Regions from separate parts of the Homo sapiens genome. Here all the other regions are linked to region 5. Evidence: promoter capture Hi-C in 16 types of primary human blood cells and fetal thymus (Javierre and others, 2016). All regions are on one chromosome and are shown on one strand. Each heading gives the region's core, a stretch centred on a gene start or on the middle of the fragment in contact. The rest is flanking DNA. Distances are from core to core; before and after follow the strand shown. Region 1 has its middle 33 kb from the start of LINC02473. Region 2 has its middle 18 kb from the start of DHX15. Region 3 overlaps DHX15 (DEAH-box helicase 15). Region 4 overlaps DHX15 (DEAH-box helicase 15). Region 5 holds the start of LGI2 (leucine rich repeat LGI family member 2). Region 6 overlaps DHX15 (DEAH-box helicase 15).

The links. Contacts are between HindIII fragments. The CHiCAGO score rates a contact against its expected background, and 5 or more counts as called.
Region 1: a contact is called between a fragment that was not itself captured here and the fragment with the promoter of LGI2 in region 5, in 1 of 17 cell types (M2 macrophages). The highest score is 6.9, in M2 macrophages.
Region 2: a contact is called between a fragment that was not itself captured here and the fragment with the promoter of LGI2 in region 5, in 1 of 17 cell types (M1 macrophages). The highest score is 5.2, in M1 macrophages.
Region 3: a contact is called between a fragment that was not itself captured here and the fragment with the promoter of LGI2 in region 5, in 1 of 17 cell types (M1 macrophages). The highest score is 5.3, in M1 macrophages.
Region 4: a fragment that was not itself captured here is called in contact with the fragment with the promoter of LGI2 in region 5 in 1 of 17 cell types (M2 macrophages); the score reaches 6.7 in M2 macrophages.
Region 6: a fragment that was not itself captured here is called in contact with the fragment with the promoter of LGI2 in region 5 in 2 of 17 cell types (M2 macrophages and M1 macrophages); the score reaches 6.2 in M2 macrophages.

What each region holds. Positions count from the first base shown.
Region 1 is chr4:24,625,530-24,628,229 of GRCh38, reverse strand. No RefSeq gene overlaps it. Among named protein-coding and RNA genes, the nearest start is that of LINC02473, 33 kb to the left of the region's middle. The HindIII fragment of the contact is 7,679 bases long and covers 1-2,700 here.
Region 2 is chr4:24,601,488-24,604,292 of GRCh38, reverse strand. No RefSeq gene overlaps it. Among named protein-coding and RNA genes, the nearest start is that of DHX15, 18 kb to the right of the region's middle. The HindIII fragment of the contact is 1,274 bases long and covers 853-2,126 here.
Region 3 is chr4:24,568,817-24,571,731 of GRCh38, reverse strand. DHX15 (DEAH-box helicase 15) reads left to right here. Exons shown (of 14, transcript NM_001358.3): 3 at 885-1,078. Among named protein-coding and RNA genes, the nearest start is that of DHX15, 14 kb to the left of the region's middle. The HindIII fragment of the contact is 2,716 bases long and covers 56-2,771 here.
Region 4 is chr4:24,528,999-24,531,933 of GRCh38, reverse strand. It overlaps DHX15 (DEAH-box helicase 15), which reads left to right. Exons shown (of 14, transcript NM_001358.3): 13 at 2,164-2,333. Among named protein-coding and RNA genes, the nearest start is that of MIR573, 10 kb to the right of the region's middle. The HindIII fragment of the contact is 5,077 bases long and covers 1-2,935 here.
Region 5 is chr4:25,029,193-25,032,250 of GRCh38, reverse strand. LGI2 (leucine rich repeat LGI family member 2) reads left to right here and starts at 1,305. Exons shown (of 8, transcript NM_018176.4): 1 at 1,305-1,754. The coding sequence starts at 1,558. It overlaps LOC124900684 (a long non-coding RNA gene), which reads right to left and starts at 2,143. Exons shown (of 2, transcript XR_007058083.1): 1 at 2,018-2,143. The HindIII fragment of the contact is 5,840 bases long and covers 1-2,028 here.
Region 6 is chr4:24,550,945-24,553,847 of GRCh38, reverse strand. The region is part of intron 5 of DHX15 (DEAH-box helicase 15); the gene reads left to right. Among named protein-coding and RNA genes, the nearest start is that of MIR573, 32 kb to the right of the region's middle. RefSeq lists an enhancer at 90-658. The HindIII fragment of the contact is 3,436 bases long and covers 1-2,903 here.

The DNA.
Region 1 (2,700 bases), core at 173-2,672, 400 kb after region 5:
TACTTACACATTACTACTTTTTTAAATTTAACACCTTATCATGTGCATCTCTACAAATATGCAGATATGGATTCAACTCTAGCTTTTTCTCCTCTCATGTATATTATATCATATATATACACACACATTATACGTGTGTATTATATTTTAGGTATATATGCATATAATGTATTATATACATATTAATATGTAAATATATTAACAGAATATCATTATGGTAGCTAAAAAAATTAGATCCAATTTTTCTTCTACCCTTCTCCTTTCAGATTTTACCCAAATCTCACACCCTCACACACAACTCGACAAAATTCCTGTTAACAATCCAATGTAGAGCATTCCAAACTTTTTTCCCAAACTCATGTAATTATAAGTAGAAGTTTGTACACAAATATACATGTTTACACATACATACACACACACACACACTCATCCATACACAGTCATGTGCTGCATAACCACATTTCGGTCAATGACAAACCACATATACAACACTGGCCCCAAAGAAACAAAGAATTATAATGCCATATTTTTGCTGTACGTTTTGTATGTTTAGGTACACAGTTGTGTTACAATTATCTATAGTTTTCAGTACAATAACATGTTATACAAGTTTGTAGCCTAGGAGCCACAGACCACACCATATAGCCTAAGTGTGCAGTAGTAGCCTCTACCACCTAGGTTGATGTAAGTACACTCTATGATATTCACGTAACAACAAAATTGCTTAACAATGCATTTTGAGAAAGCATCCCCATCCTTAAGTGATGCATGACTGAATACTGTTTATTACTGGAAACCATAATATACACCATTCTTGGCATCTTGCCTTTCTCACTCAACACCTTGTAGCAATCCTTCTAATTCATATGCAGTAGTTCTAATTCCTTCTTCTTAGTAACTGCATAGTATTTTTTTTTTTGAGACAGGGTCCCACTCAGTTACCCAGGCTGTAGTGCAATGATGTGTTCATGGCTCTCTGCAGCCCCAACCTCCTGGGCTCAAGTGATCCTCCCACCTCAGCCTCCCTAGTAGCTGGAACTATAGGCATGCACCACCATGCCTAGCTAATTTTTATATTTTTGGTAGAGACGAGGTCTTGCTATGTTGCCCAGGCTGGTTTTGAACTCCTGGGCTCAAATGATCCACCTACCTCAGCCTCCCAAAGAGCTGGGTTTCCAGGCATGAGCCACCACACCCGGCCAACTGCATAGTATTTTATGATGCAAATACACACACATTTATTCAGCCATTCCCTTATGGATGTATATTGACTTTGTTTTTAGGTTTTTGTTACTATAATTCTGCAATAAACAACTTTACATATAGCTCTCCATATTGATTATTTTATTTTTACTGACTACAATCCCAGGAGTGCAATCATTGGGTTAAAGGGTATGAGGATTCTTTATTATAATGGATGCTGCTTGGCATTTGTTTTTCTCAAAATGTGACAATTCACATTTTCACAAGTAATGCATGAGATTGGAATAGATAATATCATTCTTTTTAACTTCTGCCAATCTGTTGCATGTAGAGTAATATCTCATTATTATTTTAATTTGCAATTCCCTGGCTGCCACTGAGTTGGGTACCTTTTCATATGTTTACCAGCCATTTGGATTTGCTATTCGGTTTATTTCCTTTTTCATACTTATTGACCTTTTTAAAAATTGGAATGGTTTATCTTTTTCTTATCAATTTGCAAGAATTTGTTATATATAAGAAATATTAACCCAATATCTGTTATCTACATTGTACATATTTTTCTAAATGCATTTTGACTCTTGACTTTGTTTGGGTACCTTTCACCATATAAAGGTTTGAAATTTTTATGTAATCAAATATGTCTACCTTTTATACTTTCCAGGTTTCTGGTTTTAGTTTAAAAGATGTTCTCTGTCCCCTAGATTTGCATGTAGTCACCTAAATATTTTTTTTAAACTTATTGTTTACATTTATGTTTTTAATCCATTTGGAATTTATTTTTGGATTTGTTGTGAAATTGAGATACAAGTTCATTTTGCTCCAGAAGAATAGGCAGTTATGCCAGCAATACTTATTAAGTAAGCCATTCTTTCCCACAGAATTGAAATACTACCTTTGTCACATATTAAATTATGATATATACTGAGATCTATTTTTGGATCCACTCTTCTGTTCCACTGATTTGTCTACTCTTATGCCAATACCACGTTGATTGTATTCCAGTGATTTTTATTACAGTGGCTTTCAGTTGAAGGCAAGTCTCTCATTATTTATCTTCTGCATATTTTCTTTGTTATTCAGGCACTTACATTTCCATGTGGCTTTTAAAATAATTTTATCCAACGCATTCTACCCCCCAAAAAGAGAACTATTAGGATAATACATGGAATTTTGCTATATTTATTTAGGGGAATATTATTAGTTTTTCAATCTGTAAAAATTTTAGTCTTTCTTTCTTAACATTTATTATATCTTAAAAATTAGCAATAATTTCTTGATATGATTAAATATCTAGTCACTGCTTAAATTTCCCCAATTGTCTCAGGATAGTTTAATTTATTTTTTAGACTTAGGATCTAAATAGGCTATAAATTTCAGTTGGTAGTGATAGGTGTTTAAATCTTTTTTAATCTGTTGACACCTCCTTCGTTATGTGTTTTCTTGCAATTTACTGAAGAAAACAGGTTGTCCGGCAGCATTTTCCTAACCTGAATT
Region 2 (2,805 bases), core at 240-2,739, 430 kb after region 5:
TGTATAGGGGAGGCCCACCAAAGCAGTGCCTTGGTGATAGAGAGGGGTAATAGACCACAGACCCAGCACGAGTCTTGTTGTAATCTATCTGCATAATCTTGTGCCCATTTGATATGGTTTGGCTCAATGCCCTCACCCAAATCTCATCTCCAGTTGAAATCACCATGTGTCGAGAGAGGGACCTGATGGGAGGTGATTAGATGATGGGGGTGATTTTCTCCATGCTGTTCTCATGATGGTGAGTGAGTTCTCACAGGAGCTGATGGTTTTAAAGTGTGGGAATTGCTTGCTCTCTTTCTCCTGCCACCTTGTGAAGAACACGCTTGCTTGCCCTTCACCTTCTGCCATGATTGTAAGTTTCCCGAGGCCTCCCCAGCCATACAGAACTGTGAGTCAATTAAACATCTTTCCTTTTACCTAGTCTCAGGTAGTATCTTTAAAGCAGTGTGAATCTGAACTAATACACCATCATAGGAAAAGGTTAGGAGTATAGAAAGAAACAACAAAAGATGTAGTAAGAAAAAATATTATTTAAAAAATCCTATCTTTTTTGTACAGAAATCTTAGGACTTTGAGGGGTTCTGCCTCCTATTTGGCTATCTTGGGGACCTCTGTTATGAACATTTATTTTGGCAGGAACTTTTTTACAATGTGTAGTGGATCCATGGCTTGATGCCCGCCAGTTTCAGTGCTGAAATTGGCAGTTAGCAGCACCAGTAGGGCCCTTTCCATTTCTCCTGTAGCTGCTGAGTTGGGCCCGTTCCCATCTACTCTTTAGCAGTACTTGATCACGGGACTGGAAAGAGTGGCGTGGCTCTGCTGAGTTCACAATGCTGTTGTTGAAAGCAAGCTTATGCAAAACGTTACGAATTTGTCCCAAGTGAGTAACACAATGTTTAATAGTTGACTTCTTATTAAGGGGCACCCTAGTAACCCAAAAGGGTCTCTCATGTATCATTTCACAGGACTTAACCTAATCCCACATCTGGGGAGGTCATTCTTACCCAGAGCAATGCAATGCCAAGTACCTGAATTCATTTTGGTTGAGTTTCCTGGCACAGTTTGGCAATAACTGTTTTTAGTGCTGGATTTTCCTTTCAGTCTGTCCAGAAGACTGTGGTCTCCATGCTGAGTATAGTCTGCAATTTATTCCAAGTGCCTTGTTTACCTGGAACAACTGCAGGCTCTTGTAAGGGCAATCAGTTCTGCCTTCTGTGCAGAGGTTCCTAGTGGTAAAGTCCTGGCTTCTGTGACCTCTGAAAACGTTACCATTACATATATAGCATTTCTTTTTCTGTCGGTTACCAGGCTGCTCCCATCCATGAACAATGTCCAGTATGCATATGGCAGGGCTGTGTCCTTTAAATTAGGGTGACTGGAAAACACCTTAGTCAATAATTGGTAAACATTATGCATAAGTTCTTTTGGCTCTTCGGTAGAGGGAAGTAAAGTAGCTGGGTTCAAGGCTCTGGTAACCTGCACTTTTACTGTGGGTTCATCTAGGAGTGTGGCCTGGTATTTGCTCAATCTGCCCACTGTCAGCCAGTAGCCTCCCTTTTGTTCTAGTAACACTAGTACTTGGTGAGGCACGTAGACAGTAACAGGCTGTCCCAAAGTCAACTTTTCAGCCTCCTTTAATAGTAGGCAGGTGGCAGTGACCGCCCTTGAACAGGAGACAGCCTTTGGCCACATTATCCAGTTGTTTAGGAAAGTAAGCCTAGTGGCTGCAAGATTTCTCCTAATTTCTGTGTTAAGGATCCCCAGTGCTAGACCCAGTCTCTCATGCATGTACAATTGAAAAGGCTTATGAGGATTTGGGAGCCCCAGGAATAGGGTGGAGGTTAACTTACATTTCAGTTGTCCAAATGAGTGCTGGTGTTTTGCTCCCAATCGAAGGCATCATTGTTAGGTCCCTTAACAGACTGTATAGCGGCTTCATTGGTAGTTCATAGTTAGGAATCCAGATCTAACAAAACCCTGCCTTGCCTAGAAATCCTCTCAACTACCTTCTGGTAGTGGGTGCTGCAATGGAAGCGATTGCATTTTGTCTTTCCACTATTAGAGCTCTAGCTCCCTCCTGCAAGAGAAAATCTAAGTATGCCACAGTTTGTTGGCATATCTAAGCTTTTTTACTTGAAACCTTATACCCACGGGTGGCTAGGTGGTTAAGAGTTTTAATGGTGTTATTCTGACATTCCCATTCAGAGAGGCTAGGTATTAGTAAATCACCCACATATTGTAACAATACCCCATTTTCCAATTTTAAACTCTTTAAATTTCAAGCCAAGGCTTCCCCAAATATATGTGGAGAGTTTTTAAATCCTAGTGGGAGTGCAGTCCAATGATACTGAAACCACGTTGCGGCTTCAAGATCTATCCATTCAAAGGCAAACAACAGTTGACTTTCTGTGTCTATGGGTATGCAAAAGAAAGCATCTTTTAAATCCAATACTGTCAGCCATTTATAATCTCCAGGAAGAGAAATGAACTTAGTATATGGGTTAGCTACAGTGGGATGTATGTCCTCTACAATATCCCAATTAGGGTCCCTGTGGGGAATTGCCGCCCCCGGATCTGTGTTGTCTGAATTTTCATGATGAAGTCATTGCGCCTCTTCCTTCACTTTATTGAAAACCAGCTGCCGCTCATCTGCAGTGAGCATAATGCTTAGGAGAGCCTGCACATCTGCCCAGGTGGGCACTGTGTAGCAAATACAGTGGTATTATAGGCCCAATAATGTTGGCTGGAGCTCCTTGCTAATTGACTCCTACTGAATATTGTTACAGTGGGAACTTCCCTGCTCCA
Region 3 (2,915 bases), core at 164-2,663, 460 kb after region 5:
TGCAGAAAACTCCATGTTTCCTGTAGCATTAGAGTTTGATAGGCGTTTGGAAGCTTTGATGTAAACCAGTTATGCTCTTCTAGCAGTGGATTTCCATATAATATGGTGAGCACTTACATTTTTCCCATGGTTCTTTTCCAGTTAAGTGACTGGAAAACTGTAAAATTGGGGAATCCATTAGCTTATATTGATAATGGAACTGGGGGAAAATGTACTGCCGTCATGGCAACCAATTTAACTTGTGCTTGGGGGTCCCCCAACCCTTTGGCTGCCCTTAACGAAGTGGTGCTGCTCTAGGTCCTGTTAAATTTGAGACTGGCAGTTCTTAAAATTGATTTTAAGATGGTACCTAAGGTGCTACCATTGTGCATACTGCTCCTGAGGGGGAAAGGATAGGATTACAAAAGAGTTGGGTGCTAAGAGTTAGGTTCTGCTGGCTTATAAACCAAATTTGAATTGAATTAAATAAAAGTACAGCTTCAGAGTTACAAGGGGGTATGATTTCCACTTGATTTTGCAACTCAAATTATGTAAGAATTTAAAAGTTACACTTTCTTAGAAACGTTTGTTATAAAGTAGAATTTGTTGTAAGTTGGATTTTTTAAAATTGCATAGAGAAATACTTCATGATGGGATAGTCACACTGTCGAGTGTATTCCTGATTGTGTCTACCCAACTTGGGTGTGTGTCATATCAGTATTACACATAACTGTTCCTTGGTTTAGAGAGCTTGTGTTGTTACAAGTTTTGAATCACAAGTCTTATAGTCATTTGCCTAATTGGATTTGGTTTTAAATCATTAGAATGAGATAAAGTGCTTTATGTTACATATACTTGATATGCAGGCAGAATAGAATTAATTTAAATGTGAAATTATTTGATAGATTCCACAGTGGTGTGTGGAGTACATGCGATCATTACCAGGACCCAAGAGAGGAGTTGCCTGTACCCAACCCAGGAGAGTGGCTGCAATGAGTGTGGCTCAGAGAGTTGCTGATGAGATGGATGTGATGTTGGGCCAGGAAGTTGGTTACTCCATTCGATTTGAAGACTGCAGTAGTGCAAAAACCATTCTTAAGTAAGTACTATATCTTTAATGACGCTTTTAGTCCTCTGCTTGCCATTTTCTGCTATTAGATAGAAGACTTTGCTAGTGCAGGCTTATGTCATCCAAATTTAGAATTATCCAAAGTAGGCCTTCTTAGACTTACCACATGACCTTAGTTTAATTATATATTATTGGTAATCTATAGTTACTTGGTAGAAATTGAAGTTCAAAGGTCAGATTTTAGTTACTTGGTTCTGCATTTTAGGTGAAATGTTACTGATACTGTAAAATGTGTGGTTTTAGTAGACACAATGGTGTATGACTTAATTGTGAAAGAAAAGGAAAGTGATATGTCTTACTTAGTAAAAGATAACTACTTTTAGAAAGAAGAATGTATAGGATGGGATGTGATTTATTTAGGGGAGAGGGGACTTTTAATGTTAATTATGCAGCTATTACCGTGCATCTGTTATAAGCTAAAAAGAGGAATCTTTTGTTCTGTAATACACTGTTAGAGCTGCCTCTAGGTCCTTGTTCCTCTATAGCTATGGTGCAGATAATTGACTACTGTATTGAGCTTTCTAATGTTTTAACTCTACCAACTTTTTATTGTCTTATACTTGCATTCTGCATAAGTTATGATGTATGCTACCTGATGATGATTCTTTCTCAAGTCTTCCCTCTGGTTGCTTCTGCTTATTCTGTATTTATGTGATATTTAAGTCCTTTTAAATGTGACTTGTTTGAGTGGGGCTCAGTGGCATATGCCTGTTTATTCCCAGCCACTTCGTAGGCTGAAGCAGGATTATTGCTTGAGGCCAGGAGTTCAAGGCTACAGTGTGCTCTGATCATGCCTGTGATAGCTACTGCATTTGAACCTGAGCAACATAGCAAGACCACATTTCTTTTAAAAAAAAAGAAAAATCATATCTATGTGATCTTCTCCCTGAGGTTTTTAAAAACCATTTTGGAGCGTTGTGTAGGCAGTGATATGAGTCTTTGTTGTCAGAGTCTTTGTTGTCAGAGAGATATATAGTGTTAATGGGATAAATGAAACAAGAGTCTCTCTTTTTTTTTTTTTTTTTTTTTTTTGAGATGGAGTCTCACTCTGTTGCCCAGGCTGGAGTGCAGTGGCGCCATCTCGGCTCTCTGCAACCTCCGCCTCCCGGGTTCAAGCGATTCTCCTGCCTCAGCCTCTCAGGTAGCTGGGACTATAGGTGTGCGCCACCATGCCTGGCTAACTTTTTGTATCTTTAGTAGAGTTGTGGTTTCACTATGTTGGCCAGGCTGGTCTCTAACTCCTGACCTCATGATCCGCCCGCCTCAGCCTCCCACAGTGCTGGGATTACAGGCGTGAGCCACTACACCCAGCCGCAGAAATTGAATAGAATAATGAACTGCATGTGTTTATCATCGACTTTTAACTATTTCAGTCTTATTTATTTCATATCCAATCTTAATTTATTTCCCTGTCCCATGTTATTTCGAAGCAGTCTTAGATACCAAATAATTATATATATAAATATTTCAGTGTGTATCTCTGAGATAGTTTCTTAAAATAGAGCTATCATAACTTAAAACAATTTATTGGATCAAAATATCCAGTTTTCATTCAACATTTGTGTCAGTTTTTTCTAATTCTTTGATTTATCTCATTTTATTAGAACTTTTTATTCAGCGTGATATTTAATAGCAGTTGAACTTTAAAATATTTAAATAAGCTTATCCTTATGACTTTATGGGACATATTTTTGGCTTAAACCTTAATCTTCACTGAATAAATTCTTGTAGTTGTTCAGTGATACGTTATTGATCACTGGTAATTACAGTATAATTGACAATAATTGCATAAGCAAAATCATAGCTC
Region 4 (2,935 bases), core at 336-2,835, 500 kb after region 5:
CAAAAATCAAAGGAGATTGGTGAGATGTCTGTATTTGAATCTAAGTAACACAGTGTTTATTGTGGCATCTTATTATATAATAGGCTTATTAGAGTTTGGTGAATGATAGGTATGAGCATTCTTTCTTGAAACTCTTAACTATATTCTTAATATTTGATATGTTGTACTGGCTTCTCTTTGACATGTTCTGTTCTTTTTTAGGGGGAGGGGATGGGGTGAGGGAGGCAATGTCTCACTCCCAGGCTGGAGTGCAGTGGTGCAATCACGGCTCACTGCAGCTTTTACCTCCCTGGGCTCTGGTGATCCTCCCACCTCAGACTCCTGAGTTCCTGGGACTACAGGCACGCACCACTATGCCTAGCTAATTTTTGCCTTTTTGTGTGTGTAGAGAGAGGGCCTCGCCACGTTGCCCAGGCTGATCTTGAACTTCTGGCTTCAAATGATCCTCCTACCTCGACCTCCCAAAGTGCTGAGATTACAGACGTGAGCCACCAGGCCTGGGTTGACATGTTCTTAAATTTGCTTTTTATATTTCAGAAAAAAACTGGCCGGGCGCTGTGGCTCACGCCTGTAATCCCAGCACTTTGGGAGGCCGAGGCGGGTGGATCACGAGGTCAAGAGATCGAGACCATCCTGGCTAACATGGTGAAACCCCGTCTCTACTAAAAATACAAAAAATTAGCCGGGCGCGGTGGCGGGTGCCTGTAGTCCCAGCTACTCGGGAGGCTGAGGCAGGAGAACGGCGTAAACCTGGGAGGCAGAGCTTGCAGTGAGCCGAGATAGCGCCACTGCACTCCAGCCTGGGCGACAGAGCGAGACTCCGTCTCAAAAAAAAAAAAAAAATTGATGAAACTATATTCAAGCATTATACTTCTTAATTATGTAGATTAAAATTTGTTACAAACAGCTAGGCACCACAGAGTGTGCTTGTAGTCCTAGCTACTAGAGAAGTTGAGTGGAGAGCAAGGAGCGTTGAAGCCAGCCCAGGCAACATAGGAAAACCCTATCTCTTTTTAAAAACAAACAAAAAATTTATTAGAAACAGCATGCATTATAGTACCTGACACCTAATAGGTGTTTAGTAAATATTTCGAATGAAATTGAGTTTCTTTTCTATTATTCATGCTCATTCTTTAAGCACAGAATATTAGAATTGGAAAGGGAGAACTGTCCATTTTGATGAGTATCACCAGTCAAGGTGTTACCAAAAAAAGAAATGAGAGGGAAGCACGTGCAAGCTCTTTTTTTTTTCCCATTTTTATTTTCCTGTCTTTGTAGGTTACCTTTTTCTTTTCCTCTTTGCCCTCTTTAGTTTTCTACCTTATTTTTTATTCTATTTCTTTATTTTCTTTTTTGAAATGGAGCCTCTCGGTCTGTCGCCCAGGCTGGAGTGCAGTGACTTGATCTCAGCTCACTGCAACCTCCGCCTCCTGGGTTCAGGCAATTCTCCTGCCTCAGCCTCCTGAGTAGCTGGGATACAGACACCCGCCACCACGCTTGTCTAATTTTTGTACTTTTAGTAGAGATGAGGTTTCACCGTGTTGGCCAGGCTGGTCTCGAACTCCTGACCTCAGGTGATCTGCCTGTCTCAGCCTCCCAAAGTGCTGGGATTACTGCACCTGGCTTTAGTTTTCTACCTTAGACATGAATGTTCTGGTAATTGTCTGCTCATAGTTGGCGCCCAGTGCTGAAGAGCCTGCTCTAGATGGTCTCAGGCAGGAAAGATCAGATAGTAAATGTTGGGCTCTGTGGACCCATGAAGTCCTTGTCAAAACTACCTAACACTGCCTGCTCTTGGAGCATAATAGGTATAGACAAATGGGCATGCCTGTGTTCTAATAAAACTTTCCTTATGGATACTGAAGTTTGAATTTTACATGCTACTCATGCTTCACGGAATGTTTTTTGTATGATATTTTTTCTTTCTAATTAAAGATAAATAAACCATTTTGGATTCACAGACCTTACAAATAGAGGCTATGAGTTGGATTTGGCCCACAGGCAGCAGTTTGCTTATCTCTGCTTTTATCAGACAGTGATAAATAAGTATAGCCATAGAATGAAAAGTAAAAGGGAGGCCTGCCTCTTCCTAATTATGTAGGTAGCTTTACAACTAGCAAGTCAGAAGCATTGTATTAATAATATACTGGGTTTTGGTTTCAGGTGGCACATTTAGAACGAACAGGGCATTACTTAACTGTGAAAGATAACCAGGTGGTTCAGTTGCATCCCTCTACTGTTCTTGACCACAAACCTGAATGGGTGCTTTATAATGAGTTTGTTCTAACAACAAAGAATTACATCCGGACATGTACAGATATCAAGCCAGAATGGTAAGTACACCTTTTGTTCTAACAGTTTTTTGTTAGTACTTTGCTCAAAATGGAACCTGACTGTTGCTAGAGTCATGGCCTTGCATTCACTCATTGAGAATTTATATTTCAGTGTGTAGGTATGAGGGAATTGACTGGATGGTGTGATTAATCTTTCACACCCTTCCTTTGTTAAGTGGACAGTGGGATTGTTGATATTTATGGGCAGGATTTGAAGCCAAATGTGAAGTTACATTTGAATAGCATGAAAAGTTTCTTCAGGGGCTGGGCATGGTGGCTCACACCTGTAATCCCAGGACTCTGGGAGGCCAGGATGGGAGGATCACTTGAAGCCAGGGGTTCAAGACCAGCCTGTGCAATATAGCCAGAATCCATCTCTACTAAAAGATATATAGGTGTGTACAAAAATTAGCTGGGCATGGTGGTGCTGCACGTCTATAGTCCCAGCTACTGGGGAAGCTGGGCAGGAGGATTGCTTGAGCCCAGGAGTTTGAGGTTGCAGTGAGCTATGATCATGCCACTGTACTCCAGCCTGGGTGACAGTGAGACCCTGTCTCTCAGACATACTTTTAAAAAAGGGTTTTTTTTTAATTTTTTTAATT
Region 5 (3,058 bases), core at 56-2,555:
TCTGTGACCCCCTTGTAGCCAGTGGAGTTGCTCTTTTAGGGTTGTCTGTCCAGCTAGACTTTTAGCTCCCTGAGGACAGGAGCTGTTCCTTTGTTCCCTCCCACAGCAGCCAGCCTGATACCGTCCTCATGGATCTTGTCAATGGATCACCAACAATAATTGCTGAAGAAGCAATAGTATGATTCCTACTTTTGCATTCGATACTGACTTTTCTGAGTAGGTTTTAGCATCTGGCATGCTTTTCCTTGGTTTGCAGCTCGACAGTCGTGCTGTGATTCCCTTCTCCCAGCAGTTCAGGTTATTAGCCATTACTTTGTTTCCGCTTTGGTCATTTTCTTTGATTTCCTCAGCCGCACATTACCTGTGTTAAGATTTCCGCTCATTGCTTCAAACTTAAGGAGTTGAAGAGGGGCTCAGGAGGGCCCAGTTAAGGTAGCCCTTCAAGGCTCCGAGCCCCATCCTGCCCAGCCAGGAGCTGCTGGACCATCAGCCAGTCAGGATGCTTTCTGGGCGTCAGCAGCCTCATCAATAAATTAAGGATATAAGTAGGACCTGCCTCAAAAGGTTAGAAGATTAAAAGTACAGTGGCTAGAATGTATCACACCCTCAATCTCTACAAACCCTCCTCTGACTGGGGCGGGTGGGGTGACCCGTGGGCAGCTGAGCGAGGGGAAACTTTCCCGGGCTTTCCAGCTCTTTAGCAGGCAGCAGGCAGGGCCCAGAGCGCCGGGCGTGCAGGCTGCAGCGGCTTTGCTTCCCCACGTTCCTCCCATGGGAGGACTGGCTGGCTTCAGTAACCCCTGGTGCTGTGGGAGCGAGAGCCAGACCTCACTGCCCCACCGCAGAAGACAAGCAAAGCCATCCTCGCTGACCCTACCGGCAGCATGCACTTCAAAATTAATAAAGGCTGCTCCAAAGTCTCTCCTCTTCAAAGCACCCAGGGCTGCCTCCCTCCCCAGTAATCAAGCCGGTTCTCCACACTCCCCGCTCCGACTTTATTGATTTGCCTGAAAGGAACCCAGTGCCCTCCCCAGATTATACCCCTGGAGGTATTGCAGGCATCGGATCCTCCACCGCTCAGTCAGGCCCCGACGGGGGTCTCCGCCAGGCTTGGCCCCTCCCCCAAGGTCACCCAACTTTTCCCTCTGTCCCCGCGCCCGGCCCGGGGCGAGAGGGGGTGGCGAGGTGGGGGCCGGGTGGGGCGCCACGGGGCCGGCGCTGGCCCCCTCCCCCGCGGGGCGGGCCCCGCCATGCATTATTCATTGGCCAGAGCCGGGCTGCGGGCGCGAGTGCTGATGTCAGGCAGGCGCGAGTGCGGCGGGCGCAGCGGCGGCGGCCGCCCAGCAGCCCGGGCTCGGGTGGGGGGGCGCCGAGTGGGGGTGGCGGCCAGCATGCTGCTCGGCTGCGGCTCGGCCTCCCACACCCGCGGCTCCCTAGTCCTCGCCAGCAGCGGCGGCGGCAGAGCAGCGAGCGGCGCCCGCGTCTGCAGCGGCGCCGGGTCCGAGCGCGCGGCGCGGCGGTGGGGGTCGGGGCCCGGGCGGGGAGCGGGGACCGGGCATGGCGCTGCGGAGAGGCGGCTGCGGAGCGCTCGGGCTGCTGCTGCTGCTGCTGGGCGCCGCGTGCCTGATACCGCGGAGCGCGCAGGTGAGGCGGCTGGCGCGCTGCCCCGCCACTTGCAGCTGTACCAAGGAGTCTATCATCTGCGTGGGCTCTTCCTGGGTGCCCAGGATCGTGCCGGGCGACATCAGCTCCCTGTGAGTGGGACCCCTCCAGCCCCCATCCCGTCCCGCCCCACCCTGCGTCCGCCGCCGCGAGGGAGTTGCCTCTGGCGCCGGGCCAGCGCGACCCTGACCCACTCCCCAGGCCCCTTCTTTGCCTTTGTGTGGGGGACGTGGGTGGAGTGTTGGCCCCCGGGGAGGACGGTGAGGACCTGAGCCCCAGAATCTGGGAACCCAGACAGGTTCCTGTGGCAGCGTTTCTCAGAGTGTGGCCCACGGGCCACCTGCATCAGACTCACCTGGGGAAGCTTGTGCCAATGCAGAATCCAGCTGCTCTGAAGCAGTCTTTGGAGTGGAGTCCTGGAGTGTGCGTTTGACGTCCCCGGGAGACTCAAGGGTGCATTAAAGTTTGAGAGGGCGTGTGCGTGTGTGTGTGTGTGTTTGCGGGTTGGAGTTGTGTGTGTAGGGGCGTGCATAGGAGCAGCTGAACACGACCTGACTGAGTGCAAACTGGGCAGGGTGAGGCCTCACTGCCCCACATCAGGTCTGGGGCGAATGTTCACCCCGTGGCCTCCTCCCGACTTCTCCACATTGCAGGTTGCAAAAAGTCGAGGTCAAGGCATGCAGGCTCTGGGAGGGGAGGGGCCGCCCCCCGTGGCCTAGAAGAGGGGTAACAGAAGGCTGGGCAGAGGTTTGGGGCATGTTGGGCGCCTAGCCCAGTGGCCAAGTGCTTTGAAGTCAGCCTTCTTGCCCTGAGGTCAGGAGGGCTTCTTGCCCCCTTTCTCCATCACACAGTTGTGTTGGCTGCTTTTTCAGCAGGAGGAACTGACAGGAAAGGGCTTCACATTAGGTATCCACCTGCCGAGAGGTGCTTTCATCCTGCCCTCACCTGGCCACTCAAGCCAAATGACCAGCTCTCACAAGGGCGGTGGAAGGGGCTGTTGGGCTGTATCTTTACTGCTAGGACATGTTTCCTGCTAAGACCACTCTCTTGTTCCAGGCCAAGATGCCTGGGTGCCCAGTCAGTGGTGGAGGCAGGGAATCCCCGGGGTGACGTTGCTTGTGCTCAAGATACTTTCTTGTGTCCAGTGCTTCCCAGCCTCCCACCCAAGGCAAATTGTAGGGGCCTGGACCCAGGAGTGAGGGGGTTCCCATTTGCATTTATAGAAAGTCAGAAGAGTTTGGCTGGTGGGAACAGAGGACCTTTTTGATTCTTAATATTGCTAAGTCGGGTGACATGGAGGATTCCAGAAATTAGAGTTCCCCTTATTAAATCCTTCAGACCAGCAGCTGCTTAAGTGATCTGCATGCCAACTGAAAGGAATTCTGAAATAATGTAT
Region 6 (2,903 bases), core at 400-2,899, 480 kb after region 5:
TGGATAATACAAAGTTTTAAAAAGCCTTTTACGAAAGGGTTTTTCTTTTTCTTTTTGGGGGTGGGGAGGGAAGACAGAGTCGCGCTCTGTCAACCAGGCTGGAGCGCAGTGGCATGATTATCGGCTCACTGCAACCTCTGCCTCCCGGGTTCAAGCGATTCTCTTGCCTCAGCCTCCCAAGTAGCTGGGATCACAGGTGCCCACCATCACACCTGGCTAATTTTTTTTTAATTTTTAGTAGAGACGGGGTTTCACTATGTTGGCCAGGCTAGTCTCGAACTCCTGACCTCAGGTGATCTGCCCTTCTCGGGTTCCCAAAGTGCTGGGATTATAGGCGCGAGCCACCACACCTGGCCCCAAAATGCTTTTTTGATGGCATATAAACAGCATTTGTGCTGTAATGTAGTATTGAGGCTGTTGGGATAATCGTTTTGTCCTCTTGTGTCTGGTCTCTAGTTTCTCATTTCCTCCAAAGTGCATAGTATATTTTTATTTTTATTTATTTTGTTTTATTATTTATTTATTTGAGATGGAGTTTTGCTCTTGTTGCCCAGGCTGGAGTGCAGTGGCGCGATCTCGGCTCACCGCAACCTCTGCCTCCCAGGTTCAGGTGATTCTCCTGCCTCAGCCTTCCGAGTAGCTGGGATTACAGGCATGCGCCACCATGCCCAACTAATTGGTATTTTTGGTAGAGATGGGGTTTCTCCGTGTTGGTCAGGCTGGTCTTGAACTCCCAACTTCAGGTGATCCACCCGCCTCGGCCTCCCAAAGTGCTGGGATTACAGGCGTGAGCCACTGCACCTGGCCATATTTTTATTTTTTAAATCACTATTTAAAATTGTCATCATTCTCAGATAACATAAGCGTATTGAGATTCTATCAGAAATATCAAATGGCCTCATGGTTAAGGACCCGAAAGGTTTTTCTCTGAGACAACTTTGTGCGGTATTTTCTGTGAATCCCACAGCTGGGGAAAGGAAGGGAGTAAGCCGAAGGGTTTTCAGATGTATGCTAGAGTGTCTTTCATGAAATAAAATGCTGCTCTAGTTGTCAGCTGTTTTTTTGCATACCATTGCTTCTTTAAGTTATCTTTAGATTCCCAGTCTTGAATTTGAAGAGTTTTGGGGAGAAGGTAGCAGAAAACCTAACGTTTTGTTTACATTTCATTTGTTGTATTTAGTAGTAGAGCTGGTCTAAAGTAAATATTACCTTCTCATTTTTGTGAACCTTCATTATTTTTACTTGGTAAGTTAAATGCAACTGCGAAATCAGTACTCCTTTCTTCATAAATTTGAATAGCCTCCATGAAATTGAGTAATCTCATAAAAATTTAAAACTGGTTTTTAAGAACATATTCTGACCACTAAATAAAAGTGCTTCTGTAGTCACATGAGTTAATTTGGGAGGGAGAGAGAACAGTTTAAAGTGTTGCCTAGATAGTAATTAGATAAGAGTGATTGTAATTAAATAATTTTATTTTTAATTTTGCTTAGTAAATTTTTTTTTCAACATGCAGTGAGTTAATTGGTAAGGTCCAGATTAATTTACTAACATATTGCTGCTTTTGGAGTTAAAAATCTTTTCTCAAATCAAAAACTCCTGAACTGTCTGTCTTTATTCTCAGTATTGCTAATGACTAAGCAGATGGCTGCTGTTGAAACTTCTTTTCCTCCACTACCTGTTTCTGTTTATATTCTGATGAATGCAGATAAGTTTTGTGGCATTCTCAGCTGATAGTGTTGACTTCTTGGAAGTTTGGCAAACCTCAGGGAAAATTTTTATTGCAAGTTTTAAAGCTGTTTAGGACTTTATCTAAAAACTTAAGTGTTACGGGATTTCTTCCACATTTTAGAGATGCCTTTATATCCTACATAGTCATCATTTTGTTTTAGCTCCTTGCATACTTAGCAGATTGGGTAGTCTAATCTCCAGTAAAGTTGGAATTGTCATTTTAAAATACTGGAATCACAAAGCAAATGTCTAATTTAAGCACTTAATTTTTAATGTGTGAAATCTGGATATTTTGTGATTTCTGAGCATTTATTTTTCATTTATGTACAGTAAAATTAACAAAATTGCAGATACTCTTAAATGTTGGAATCCTAGTTTTATATTATGTTCAAATGTTTTTTAAGTTGGAGAGCTCTTAATTTTTTATTTGCATGCCAGCAGGGGGCATTCTAATCTAGATACAACATTTGAAAGCAGTATTTTCAAAAAATATTTGTTCGCTTTGTTATATTTTTTATTTAGATGAATAGCATCTACTTTCATTTTCTTTTAGAAACTTGAGATTTCAAAGGAGGATCTAGTAACATTGAATCTTTAATAGTTTTCTGTGTCACAATTTTTGAGACAGATAACCTTTAAAAAAAACTGATGTGTTTGAAATAAGTGAAAAGTAATTTATTTGTTCTTACTGTGTTTAAGAACGTTGTGTTTTTTGATATAGAGACACAGTTGGACATTAAAAAAATATAAAGTAAATGTCCTAAAATTCTTCCTCACCGTTTAGTATCATTGTCCTTTGAAAAAAACACGCACTTTGTTGACAAGGGTAGCTTCTGATTGGGTCATTTATTGGACAGGCTGCCTAGTGTATAATAAGCGTTTTACATACTTCTGGGTTTAATTGAATTAATACTTCAATAAAATTTAGAATACATTTGTCCGCAGTGCTGCCTTCCATTTTTAAGTTCCTTTGCCTCTCCCAGAGCTATCATACATAATCTGTCTCTCTCTTTTTTTCCGTCTTGATATTCATTATGTCTCCTCTTGAATGCACATGTGTTAGAATATAGTCATGTGCCACATAACAACGTTTTGGTCAAGACAAACTTCTCAGATAGCTGTGGTGCTGCTCCCGTAAGATTATAGTGGAGCTGAACGTAACCTTGCAGCAT